4 separate regions of the Homo sapiens genome follow, and regions 1, 2 and 3 are each linked to region 4. The links are contacts of gene promoters, found by promoter capture Hi-C in human tissues and cell types (Jung and others, 2019). All regions are on one chromosome and are shown on one strand. The core of a region is centred on a gene start or on the middle of the fragment in contact, and the rest is flanking DNA. Distances in the headings are between cores, read along the strand shown. Region 1 overlaps PAXBP1 (PAX3 and PAX7 binding protein 1). Region 2 overlaps EPCIP-AS1 (EPCIP antisense RNA 1). Region 3 overlaps SYNJ1 (synaptojanin 1). Region 4 holds the start of EVA1C (eva-1 homolog C).

The links. Contacts are between HindIII fragments. The study calls those that stand out against the background at their distance.
Region 1: a contact is called between a fragment that was not itself captured here and the fragment with the promoter of EVA1C in region 4, in 2 of the 25 tissues and cell types used here (dorsolateral prefrontal cortex and liver).
Region 2: a contact is called between a fragment that was not itself captured here and the fragment with the promoter of EVA1C in region 4, in 2 of the 25 tissues and cell types used here (dorsolateral prefrontal cortex and hippocampus).
Region 3: a contact is called between a fragment that was not itself captured here and the fragment with the promoter of EVA1C in region 4, in 2 of the 25 tissues and cell types used here (H1 embryonic stem cells and dorsolateral prefrontal cortex).

Annotation. Positions count from the first base shown.
Region 1 is chr21:32,732,154-32,735,074 of GRCh38, forward strand. PAXBP1 (PAX3 and PAX7 binding protein 1) reads right to left here. Exons shown (of 18, transcript NM_016631.4): 18 at 1,746-2,914. The coding sequence ends at 2,797. It overlaps PAXBP1-AS1 (PAXBP1 antisense RNA 1), which reads left to right. Exons shown (of 4, transcript NR_038879.1): 2 at 1,436-1,504. Among named protein-coding and RNA genes, the nearest start is that of PAXBP1-AS1, 5.5 kb to the left of the region's middle. The HindIII fragment of the contact is 7,980 bases long and covers 1-2,921 here.
Region 2 is chr21:32,774,821-32,778,047 of GRCh38, forward strand. The region is part of intron 1 of EPCIP-AS1 (EPCIP antisense RNA 1); the gene reads left to right. Among named protein-coding and RNA genes, the nearest start is that of EPCIP-AS1, 4.3 kb to the left of the region's middle. The HindIII fragment of the contact is 6,384 bases long and covers 1-3,227 here.
Region 3 is chr21:32,713,963-32,716,892 of GRCh38, forward strand. The region is part of intron 2 of SYNJ1 (synaptojanin 1); the gene reads right to left. Among named protein-coding and RNA genes, the nearest start is that of SYNJ1, 13 kb to the right of the region's middle. The HindIII fragment of the contact is 4,447 bases long and covers 1-2,930 here.
Region 4 is chr21:32,410,873-32,414,071 of GRCh38, forward strand. EVA1C (eva-1 homolog C) reads left to right here and starts at 1,834. Exons shown (of 8, transcript NM_058187.5): 1 at 1,834-2,141. The coding sequence starts at 1,982. The HindIII fragment of the contact is 9,144 bases long and covers 1-3,199 here.

The sequences.
Region 1 (2,921 bases), core at 375-2,874, 320 kb after region 4:
GCAACTTACAGTTTCCTATTTTATATTGCAGCTCTGTAACATTTGACTACTTTTGTAAGAGTTTCATGATTTCAAGGATGATTATTAGCATTTTCAATTTTTTGGCCAATTCTGGGTGCTGGTAATGTTACCACTGCAGGCAACTATGGCTCTACTCAACTGAAGACCTCTTATAGGCAATGTGGACCATACCTGCTTTCCTGAGAGATCAGCAAATTGGGTTTGGTCATCAGGAAATTCTGTCTCTCAGATCTCATACTAGCAAGGAGACCCCTGGTTGTACCTGTCAGAGCTGCCAGTTGGCCCTGCTGAAACTTTAGAACTGCACCAATGTCTAAGACTTTCATCCTCCTTCCTTCACACAGGTGAGACCTGCCTGCCTCATTGTCTGACAGCTTTCCCAGCCTCCTCCAGGCTCCCCTCCGTTTTCTCTTATACGCATTCCCCCAATAAACTTCCTGTACATTTAATACCATCTCAGTGTCTGCTCCCAGGAGGACCCTAACTGACACACTGGGGCATTTAGCCTCCAATTCCTTTTCTCCCTTGGCTGAGATCTGTTCCAGGAAGTATCTCCAGGACACTCCAGCCTGTTGCACAGGCCAAAGAAAAGCCCTCAGGCAGAGGAGCAAATACTTGCAAGAGGACACCAGTGGCAAGAACAGGGACATGGTGAGACTTCGACATCATTGGCTACAGTAGTACTAGTCACTCTTGACTGTGGTTTATGTTGTTTCAATAAAGTAGCTTTCCTTCTCAAAAACATTTGTCACCTATTTTGGAGTTAATTCAGAGGATTGCTCCAAAAGAAAAAACTGAAAAGCAAAACCAGCTTTATTAAAATGTAACCCTCTGGATTTATCTTTTGATAATTCCTTTCATAAGAAATAATGTCCTTAAGCTATTTCAGGAATAAAAATGTTCTGCTTGGGATAGAAAAACCATTGTTTTATGTACCCTACATCAAATTCCTAGTGTGATGTTCAAACCCATTCCTGAAACCAATATAGCCTGACAGATTTCATAGGATAAAAACTCTATTTTAAGAGTTCTTAAAAGCAGAGTAATTAGTCTAATGGGTTTGGAAATAATATGCAGTTTAAGGCCTAAATGATCTGTATGTGATACAGATACATGTTTTATGTTTTATTCTACTTAAGATGAGGAATAGGTGTTCTGACTTTAATTCTACTTAGTAGGCCAGTAAGGTGTAATGAAAAATTCATCCAGAATGAATACTGATTTGGTTTGGTTCTGTGTCCCCACCCAAATCTCACCTTGAATTGTAATAATCCCCACATCAAGGGCGGGACCAGGTGGAGATAACTGAATCATGGGGGGTGGTTTCCGCCATGCTGTTCTCCTGAGTTCTCATGAAATCTCATGGCTTCATAAGGGACTTCCCCCTTCCCTCAGCACTCATTTCTCTCTGCAGCCACCCTGTGAAGACGTGCCTTTCGTCAAGATTGTAAGTTTCCTGAGGCCTTCCCACCCATGCGGAACTGTGAGTCAATTAAACCTCTTTATAAATTACCTAGTCTCAAGTATGTCCCTATAACAGCGTGAGAATGAACTAATACAAATATGTAGGGATAAGATAAAATTAACAGAGCAAATACAGTGCATGACACTGTTCTGCATATTATGTCCTGATCAAGGGTACACATGGGCCTGCTCACAGTCCCACTTTATTAGAGTCATTTGAAATGCTGCAAATTTAGTCGTCAGGAAAATACAACAAAGGATATATTTAAAAATTAATTTAATGCTTGGCTAAATCTTAATTACATATATAATTATCAAACGATAGTCCTTAATTTCCAAAAAAATTCCTCTTTTGAAAATCACAGAATCAGAAAGCATAAACTTTAAAACAAGTTCTCTGAATATTTACAATGTGGTATAAACATTATAGAAGACCATGGATATTAAATTGCCTGGGTGTGGCTAATCAGCAAGGCGTATTCTTTATTGCATATTTAACTCACATATGTGGGATTTTAAATATGACAGACTACTAAAATTCAAATGCATGTATCTGCAAGCTGGGCAGGGAGTAAAATCATGAATGAGACAGGACGGTCAGCCCAAAACCATGCAATTAGGTTGTGGGTTTATTATTTTCAAAAGTGAAATTTCTATGTTCCATTTGAAACTATGTTGCATATTCATTTAGCATTCACATTAAACCCACATTTGACTCTAACGCTGATTCAAGGAAGAAAGTTCAACATTCACTCAATGACTAAGTCCACAACTCAACTCTCAATGTTAAGGCAGCACAGCTACAGTGATAGCAACGCTAACCAAAAGGTAATGAACATTTAGTCACTTGCCAGCCCTTTTGTTACAACAGTGTAGTAATTTCCCTAAGACAATTTGCTACCGGATAATTTTCTGCTGTTAAAAGGCTTCCTCTGTGGAAAAACACCACAAATTTCCAGTGTGAAAGTAAGTCCATGGTGGTATAAATATATATATGCATAATTACACAATTTACACTGCACACATCGTTTACAGGGGACAATTAACTGAGAGGGTTAATTTAAATGACCATACAAAATACTTCAGTAAACAAAGTATGACAGGCAGTAAAGAAAACATTCATAGACTCCTAGAAATAATCTGAATTCCTTTCATTCTGAAGAAATATCATTTAAGGACACAGTATTGAATATAATGTTTTTTGTATTAAAACAAGAATTGCTATTTTACAGTTTAAGAAACTTTACATATATACAAAATTTACACATTGGGAATGGTAATCAAGCAAATAGGTTTTTCAGTCTCATAGATCTATTTTCCTTCGATCAAAGACTTAAATTCTTTCACATTGTGGTCACTTGCAACAGACATAGCATGATCCAAAGCTCGAACACTTGCAAGGAGTTTTACTATCTGTTTTATGTTTTCCCTAAAAG
Region 2 (3,227 bases), core at 180-2,679, 360 kb after region 4:
AAACCTATACGGCATGTTACTGTACTGAATACTGTAGCACTTGTAACACAATGGTATCTGTATCTAAACATAGAAAAGATACAGTAAAAATACAGCATAAAAGCTTTAAAAATGGTGCACCTGTATAGGACACTTACCAGGAATGGAGCTTACAGGACTGGAGGTTGCTCTGGGTGAGTCAGTGAGTGAGTGGTAAGTGAATATGAAGGCCTAGGTTATTACTGTACACTGCTGTAGATTTTATAAACAACTGTACACTTAGGCTACACTAAATGTTTAAACATATTTCTTTCTTCAATAATAAATAGCTTACTATAACTTTTTTACTTTATAAGCTTTCTTATTTTTTAAAACTTTTTTGTTGTTATTGTTTTGTTTTGTTTTTGTTTTTTGAGATGGAGTCTCACTCTGTCACCCAGTCTGGAGTGCAGTGGCGCGATCTCAGCTCACTGCAACCTCCACCTCCCAGGTTCAAGCAATGAGACAGAGTCTCACTCTATCCCCAGGCTGGAGTGCAGTGGCGTGATCTCAGCTCACTGCAACCTCTGCCTCCCAGGTTCAAGCAATCCTCCCACCTCAGCTTCCCAAGTAGCTGGGATTATAAGCGTGCACCACCATGCCCAGTTAATGTTTGTATTTTTAGTAGAGATGATCCGCACACCCCACAAGCTCCTGTGTTGGCCAGGCTGGTCTTGAACTCCTGACCTCAAGTAATCTGCCCACCTCGGCCTCCCAAAGTTCTGGGATTGCAGGCATGAGCCAACGTGCCCAGACATTTTTTAAAACTTCTTGACTTTTTTTTTTTTTTTTTTGAGACAGAGTTTTGCTCTTGTTGCCCAGGCTGGAGTGCAGTAGTGCAACCTCAGCTCACCGCAACCTCTGCATCCAGGGTTCAAGAAGTTCTCCTGCCTCAGCCTCCTGAGTAGCCGGGATTACAGGCATGCACCACCACGCCCAACTAATTTTGTATTTTTAGTAAAGACAAGGTTTCTCCATGTTGGTCAAGGCAGTCGCAAACTCCCGACCTCAGGTCGTCCACCTGCCTCAGCCTCCCAAAGTATTGGGATTACAGGCGTGAGCCATCGTGCCCGGCATAACACTTTGCTTAAAAAAATACACATTTACAGCTGCACAAAAATATCTTCTATTTTTACCATTTTAATTATTTTGTTTTACTTTTTAAACTTTAAAGCTAAGACACAAACACACACATCAGCCTAGGCCTACGCAAGGTCAGGATTATCAGTGTCACTGTCTTCCACTTCCACATCTTGTCCCACTGGAAGGTCTTCAGGAAAAATAACAAACATGGAGCTATCATGTCCTATAAAAACAATATCTTTTTCTGGAATACCTCCTGAAGGACCTGCCTGAGGCTCTTATATACTTAACTTTTTTTTTTGTAAGTAAAAAGAGTGCGCTCTAAAATAACAGTAAAAAGTATAGTATAGGCGTCCCCAACCACCTCCCACCCCTGCAGGAGGCAAGTGGCCAAAGGTAGACATTGTTCTCTCTCTTTTTTTAAGTTTATTTTTAAAATGTTAGAAGCCACAAAGCCAATAAATATGTAAAAAATATTCTATATACATTAGCTGATGTCTTAGTCCATTTGGGCTGCTACAACAAAATACCATTAATTGGGTGACTTATAAACAACAAATTTATTTCTCACAGCTCTGGATGCTGGGAAATCCAAGGTTAAGGCACTGGCAGATTTGTGTTCCGGTGAGGGTCTGCTTCCTGGTTCATAGATGGTACCTTCTAGCTGAGTCCTCACATGGTGGAAGGGAGACAACTGTGGTTTCTTCAGCTTCTTACCAGGGCACTAATCCCATTCATAAGGGCTCCACCTTTGTGACCTAGTCACATTCCAGCATCTCTACCTCCTCTGCTATCACACTGGGGATTAGTGTTTCAATATATACATTTGGGGGGAAGATAAATAGCTGGGCCTTAACAACTGATGAGGCCTCACTAAATATGCGAGAAATAAGATAAAGCAGGGGTCCCCAACCTCCAGGCCACAGACTGGTACCAGTCAGTGGCCTGTTAGGAACCGAGCTGCACAAGAGGAGGTGAGCGGCGGGTGAGCAAACAAAGCTTCATCTGTATTTGCAGCCACTCTGCATCACTCGCATTACCACCTGAGCTCTGTCTCCTGTCAGATCTGCAGCAGCATTGGATTCTTACAGGAACACGAACCCTATTGTGAACTCTGCACATGAGGGATCTAGCTTGTGCACTCCTTATGAGAATCTAATGCCTGATGACCTGTCACTGTCTCCCATCACCCCCAGATGGGACCATCTGGTTGCAGGAAAACAAGCTGAGGGCTCCAACTGATTCTACATTATGGTGAATTGTATAATTATTTCATTATATATTACAATGTAATTGTAATAGAAATAAAGTACACAGTAAATGTAATGCATTTGAATCATCCTCAAACCATCCTCCACCCCCTAGTTCATGGAAAAATTGTCTTCTATGAAACCAGTCCCTGGTGTCAAAAAGGTTGGGGACTACTGGTATAGCAAATACATAAACCAGTAACATAGTCATTTATTATCATTATGGAGTTTTATGTGGTATATGTAATTGTATGTGCTATACTTTTATACCACTGAAACAGAGGTTTCTTAATACCAGCATCACCACACACATGAGTAATGTATTGTGCTACAGTATTATGATTGCTATGATGTCACTAGATGATAGGAATTTTTCAGCTCCATTGCAATCTTTTTTTTTTTTTTTTTTTGAAACAGAGTGTAGCTCTGTTGCCCAGGCTAGAGTGCAGTGGTGCAATCTCTGCCTCCAAGTTCAAGCGATTCTTGTGCCTCAGCCTCCTGAGGAGCTGGGATTACAGGCACGTGCCACCACACATGACTATTTTTGGAATTTTTAGTAGAGACGAGCTTTCACCATTTGGCCAAGCTGGTCTCGAACTCCTGACCTCAGGTCATCCGCCTGCCTCACCCTCCCAAAGTGCTGAGATTACTGGCATGAGCCACGGCGCCTGGCCGCATTGCAATCTTATGGGACCACCACCATATATGCAGTCCATCATTGATCAAAACATCATTATGCAGTGCATGGTTGTATTCAGATACAACAGATTTATTTATAACTTTGCCAGTCTACCTATTTATATAGTTAAAGAGCAAAGTTAAACATTTAAAAGTTATCTTACTGCCCAAGCAAGCCAAAGGTTCTTCTATCAGAAG
Region 3 (2,930 bases), core at 262-2,761, 300 kb after region 4:
CTGGAAAGCTCTCTGGTATGCTAGTAATAATATTCTATTTCTCAACCCAGTTGTGGTAATAAGGGTATGTTCATTCTATAATAATATATCAAGCTGTATGTTTAAGATTTATATACTTTTCTACATGTATTATAATTTAAAAAGCTTATTATTTTAAAAAAATACATTTGAGCAGACGGAACAGCATATGTAAAGACCCTGACGCCAGAAAGAATTTGGTACATTCAGAACTGAAAGGCGGCCAATGAGGTTAGAACATAGAAACCAAGAGGTAAAGTGGTAACAGGTTGAAGAGGGAAGCAGAAACTCGATTTTATTGTAGGTCATCTTAGAGTTTAGATTTTAACTTCAGTGGCCAATCACTGAAGAGTATTAGGCAGGGGATTAATAAGATCTAAACCATGTTTTTTAAAAGACTGGGGTGTAGGCGTGGTAAGTAGAAGCAGAGGGACCAGTTAAGGAGGGAATTGTAATGATCCATGAAAGAGACAACAGTGTCTTGATTGAAACAGAGCCAGCTAAATGCAGGCAGTTGCATGGAATCTCAAGGAAATTAAGAGGAGGAATTGACTAGACTTGGTAATAGAGAGAATGTGTGAAATGTGAGGGGAAGAGGTGTTGAGGATGATTCTTAAGTTGTTTGAAACAACTTGGTAGATGGAGTGCAATCCATTGACATAAGGGAGACTGAAGGAAAGATCAGGTTTGAGGATATGCAGTGGTTGGTAAGACCATCAATACGGTACCTATTCCAACTCTTCCTCATTTGGTAGCCACCAAACAGTTTGTGATACTATGGAAATCACAGAAATTTCTACCTTCTTCTGCCAATGATCTACCTGATGCAAACAGCACATGATATCTCAACAGTCATTTTTGGTTCAGGAATACACAAACACTCAATCCGGTGCAAGGGGAAGTGCATTTTCCTTTTGTGGGTTCTAACCCATTATCTGAGTTTCAAAAAGCTGGATCTCAATTGTGTCATCCAACATAATTATTCAACCCAGCTCTCATCAATCCTACGTCACTTTGCCACAACTAAAAATCTGAAAACTGTACTTTCTACTCCATTCTCTAAGAGAATTGATAAAACTGGGAACAAGATAGGCCAAAGATATATTCCCAATGCTAACCAAGGAAAGACAACTAATGAGCACTAAGGTACAACCAGCTAGAAATTTATTTAATTATAAGATTCTGGAATTTAAAAATAAAAACAAAAAGAGGCCGGGCACGGTGGCTCACGCCTGTAACCCCAGCATTTTGGGGAGCTGAGGCAGGTGGATCACTTGATGTCAGGAGTTCGAGACCAGCCTGGCCAGTAAGGTGAAACCTGTCTCTAATAAAGAGATACAAAAATCAGCTGGGCATGGTGGTGCACACCCATAATTTCAGCTACTCGGGATGCTGAGGCAGGAGAATCACCTGAACCCAGGAGGCTGAGGTTACAGTGAGCCAAGATCATGCCACTGCACTCCAGCCTGGGCAACAAAGTGAGACTCTGTCTCAAAAAAAAAAAAAATTGAAAAAAGAAGATTCATTCTACTTATAGTTCACACATGGTCCACAGGATATTAAATGATTTTGTTTATCTATATTTCAGCAACACATTCAAGAGATTACAGCAATCCTATGGTCCACTAGTGAACAGAATGAAACATAACTCATAATAAATATTTATTGCTAAGAGCTAGTTATATAAGTAAACACACCTTTATATATAAAAAGTTAAATAAGACTATAATGAAATAGAAACACAAAATTTTAATAAGTACATTTAACATATAGAAATATTTAATGTTTTGAGACAATAAAGTTTTTTTTTAATTTTTTTCTTTTCACTGACTCAGTTGGCCCAGAATTATCCAGGAATTTCAAGGGTCTAAAATTTTTTCATTCTGAACTGAGGAAGTAATGAGTATCCAACCAAGAAGAATTTATATATCTCTCCAAATGCCAAATTTATTTTCTCCAAGTGCCAAATCATTCATCATTTGGTTCAGTAGCTATGAAATGCAACCCAATGTGAATGCATGTGCTCACATACGTAACACTACTGATCAGCAATGGCTTATATTTATAAACTCTATTTAAGCTGGAAAAAGATAAAATACAAATTCTTATTAACAACCATTAAAACACTCAAAGCAAATTTTAATTGTCACCAGTAAAAATCATGCACAATTTTTAAAACTATACTTCCTTTTGATACTCTAACAAGGCTAAACAATTGCACTAGCCCATTCCACTCTTTATTGCTTCTTTCACTTTGTATGCTTCTTTCAAAATTTCACTGATTCAGACTTTATAATCTCAAAAGTTTTGAAAATGTTGGTATTGGATACTAAGAAAGGTAATACTACAATATTAAACTGCTAGTCATTATAATTAGCTCATATTTTTTCAACCTTCGAATGTCTGAAAAGTCTTTACATCTTCATTTGTGGTTGGGTACAAAACTCTAGGTGAATGGTTTGGTTTGGTTTCTTCCTTCCAGTACTTTAAAGATGTTCCCAATGTCCTCTGGCTTGGATTGCTTGCAAAGAAAAGTCTACTATCATTCTTATCTTCACTCTTCTGTAAATGTGTGTCTTTTCTTCCTTGGGCTACTTTTAAGATCTTCTCTGTATCACTGGTAAACAGTAACTTGATCATGTATTTGGGTATAGTGTTCTGCTTTATGTTCATTTAGCTTCTTGGATATGTGGATTCATAGCTTTCATGAAATTTGCAAAAGTGCCAGCTATTATTTCTTCAAGTGTTTTTCTTCCCTACCAACTTCTTTCTGGGATCCACATATTCATGTATATTGGGTCACCGGAAGTCGTCCTGCAGTTCACTGATGCTCTGTGTATTTATTTATTTTAGCCTTTTTTCTCTCTGTATTTTATTTTGGACAGTTTCTATTACTATGTCTTCAAGTTTGC
Region 4 (3,199 bases), core at 584-3,083:
TTCATCCACTGGAGTTGCTTCCATCTTTTGGCCATCATAAATAATGCTGCAATGAATATTGGTGTGTAAGTATGTTTGAGTTTCTGCTTTACCAGGTAAGAAAGCCTGGGGATGCTGTCACAGTGAGTAACAGTGCCCACTTAGACATTTGGAAGCCAGTGCAGACCCACAGGGCAGTGCTGCCCACTCCCAGGACTCGGGAGCATGGCTGCCTCCCTGTGCCAACACTGTCAGTCACTAGCGCAGAACCTGGCACACGTTGGTACCAATTCATATCTAAACTGGATGAATGAACAGACAGAATGGAAAGTACAGGAGGGACCCGAGTTTTGGACAAACATTACTTACCCTGTGGCTCCTAAGTGCTGGGCATCCTTACCCACACTCCCAGCTTCAGTTTCCCTAACCTAGAGAGCGCACACTAATATTTATGTTCAAATGTTATTGGGGAGGTTGAGTTTTTATTTAATATTTGAATGTAGATTTTAAAAATCATTATGCCAGACAGGCTGGGCCTCACTCGATAAACACTGATGTTTAGCATTTAACACACTTTTCCCCAGACTGGAAGAAGAGGCCGAGATCCCAATTCGGTGACCCAGCCCTTGCTGGAGTACTAGGTGGTATCTAATGCCATCCACCCTTCCGGGATCTTTACGGCCCACCTCTGAGTGGGTCCCACGGGGACCCTCAGCCGCATTTTCTTTCTGCAGGCCTCCCTGCACACTCTGGGGCGTTCGCAGCTCTGGAGCCCGCGGGGCAGTGCGTCCGGCCCCGCCCTGGGCCTCATTATCTACGTTTCCGCGTCACGCCCGCCGCGAACTTGGCAGGCCCTCCCGCCGGGTTCGGGAACACTGTGTGCCTAGCGCCCGCCCTCCTCCCTTCCGCCGGCCCCGCGCGATCCATAGGGTTTGGGTCGCTGGGCGCCAGGTACCCGCACCCGGCAAGCAGCCACGGAGCCCCTCGCGCACTTGTCCTCGATACCCTTGAGTTGGGGCTACGCAGGCCACTCCTAGGCCACTGGCTGGGCGTCCGAACGTGGGTCACCCCGCGCACAGTCTAGAGGTTCAGAAAGATGCTGTGGCCCACTTTAAAACAAAGCCCAATTATTAGCGCTCGGCGGCTGTTTGCGCCGGTGCAGTGTCAGATCCCCCAGCGCTGCGGACAACCAGCACCCAAAGGAAGCCGAGCTGGAGCTAAAGATCCCGGCTCCGGAGCCATCTGACCGGTTTTGAGACCTCCAGCTCGTCGCCGTCCTGGCTGCGAGAGCTTGGGCACGGCGCCGGGGCTCAGTCTCCTCTTCTGTGGAATGGCGATAACTGTATGTGCCGGGTGACTGCACGTGGCGCGCGGCGGGTGGCGGGGATGGCAGCGGTGCGATCCCACGCCTCCAGGACCCCACCTTCCTGCGGCCCCCGATCGGCCCCGCCCCGGGGGCGCCCCAGCTGCACGCGCGGCGCTGGCTCCAAAGTGCGTCACGGGCACCGGCCGCGCTCCTTCTGCCGCCAGGGCGAGGCTGGCACCCGGCCAGCGCGGGCAGGGCCACGGGTGCCCGGCTGTTTCCCGGGTGTGGAAGGCGCTCAAGGTGCGCGGCCCGGGGCGCGCTACTGGGGGCGCCCTCCGCGGTGGGCAGCGCGCCAGGGATCGGCCTGGGCAGCCGCGGGGCGCGCGAAGGCTGCGCTTTCCCTACGGCCCCCCTCGCTTCCTCCGGCACGGCGGCAACGGAGATTTCCTCTCGGGGAAACTACGCGGATCCTTTTCGGGGATCCTCGCCCCGCCCCAGTTCTCCGCCCCCTCCCCTTTGCTGGGGCGCCTGGGCTGGCCCGCGCAGGGGAGGAGGCTCTGGCAGCCTGGGCAGGGAGGCGGCGGGGGGCCGCGGAGCCGCTGGCCATCGATTCTCCCCGCCATGTGACGCCGTCCTTAGCCCTGCGACCCCCAGCGCGTCCCGGGCCTGCGCCTCCGCCCCGCCGCGCAGCGCACGATGCTTCTGCCGGGACGCGCACGCCAACCGCCGACGCCCCAGCCCGTGCAGCATCCCGGCCTCCGCCGGCAGGTAGAGCCGCCGGGGCAGCTCCTGCGCCTCTTCTACTGCACTGTCCTGGTCTGCTCCAAAGAGATCTCAGCGCTCACCGACTTCTCTGGTAAGAGCGCCCTCCCTGGCTGTGTGCCCCCGGCACCGCGGAGCGCCCAGGTGAACCCTCGACTGGGGGCAGCCGCACCAGTGGACACGGCGGGGTAGGATTAAAGTTGAGGCGTGCTCACAGACACTTGTCTGGTGTGAGCCCTTGGCATATAGATGGCTGCGAGTGAAGTGGCGACGGGGGACTGCCACTCCCAAGAAGGAAGGGTGTGTAATGTATTCAGAGTTTCTCGCCCTGCTGTTGACCTCGTCAATTTCCTAGCATTAGGGACCTGGTCCTGAGCCACGCTCGTTCTATGGAGGCTCCTTAAACTGAGCCCTGTGCCGCGCCCAGCGCTGTAAAATACACGTGTTGTGGTCGGAGGCGTTGCGCCGCGTTTGTCACCCGCGTAGCCCGTTTGCCCATGTAAGGAGACTAGCCCAGGGGACACTTGACCTCGAGTCCACATTGGCAGGTAGAAAGGGAAGCCCGCGGGGACTGGAGGTCTGGTGGAAAGGCAGTGAGGGATGAGGAGATACTTAGATAAGAGAGAGGAGCCTCTCTGCCAAAGTGTACCAGGGTCCTCCCTCTCCAATTCCAGTTTCCTTCACAGAAAATAATGACTTCCTACTCTCGAATAAACTAGGAGGCTTTTCTTTTTGGGAATCGTGATCCAGGCTCTCGCAGCGGATCTCAGATAGTTCTGAGCTTACAGGTGTGACGCCCCAAAGTGAAAGGGATTTCTAGGTTGACGATAGCCATAGGAGCACATGCTTAAGTTAGCGCTGCAGTTGCTTAAGGTAACACATGTCCTTGCCGCTGAAGCACACCTGGATCTCCCTCTGGCAAGGCTGGAGGCCTTCAGCCTTCCCCAGCCCAGCTTAGGGAGCAGCTCTGAGCCCCATACTCCTCCTTCTCCAGGGATCTTCTGCCAAGTTCAGGCTTTGCACAGTCGGTCCCTATCGGGTCCTCAGTGCAGAGTCTTTTGCAACATAATGGTGGTAAAGGGAGTCCTCCTCAGTCCTGTTTGTGCAGTAGGCTAGTACATAGCAAAGAACAAGGGCAAACCAGAAGTTGAG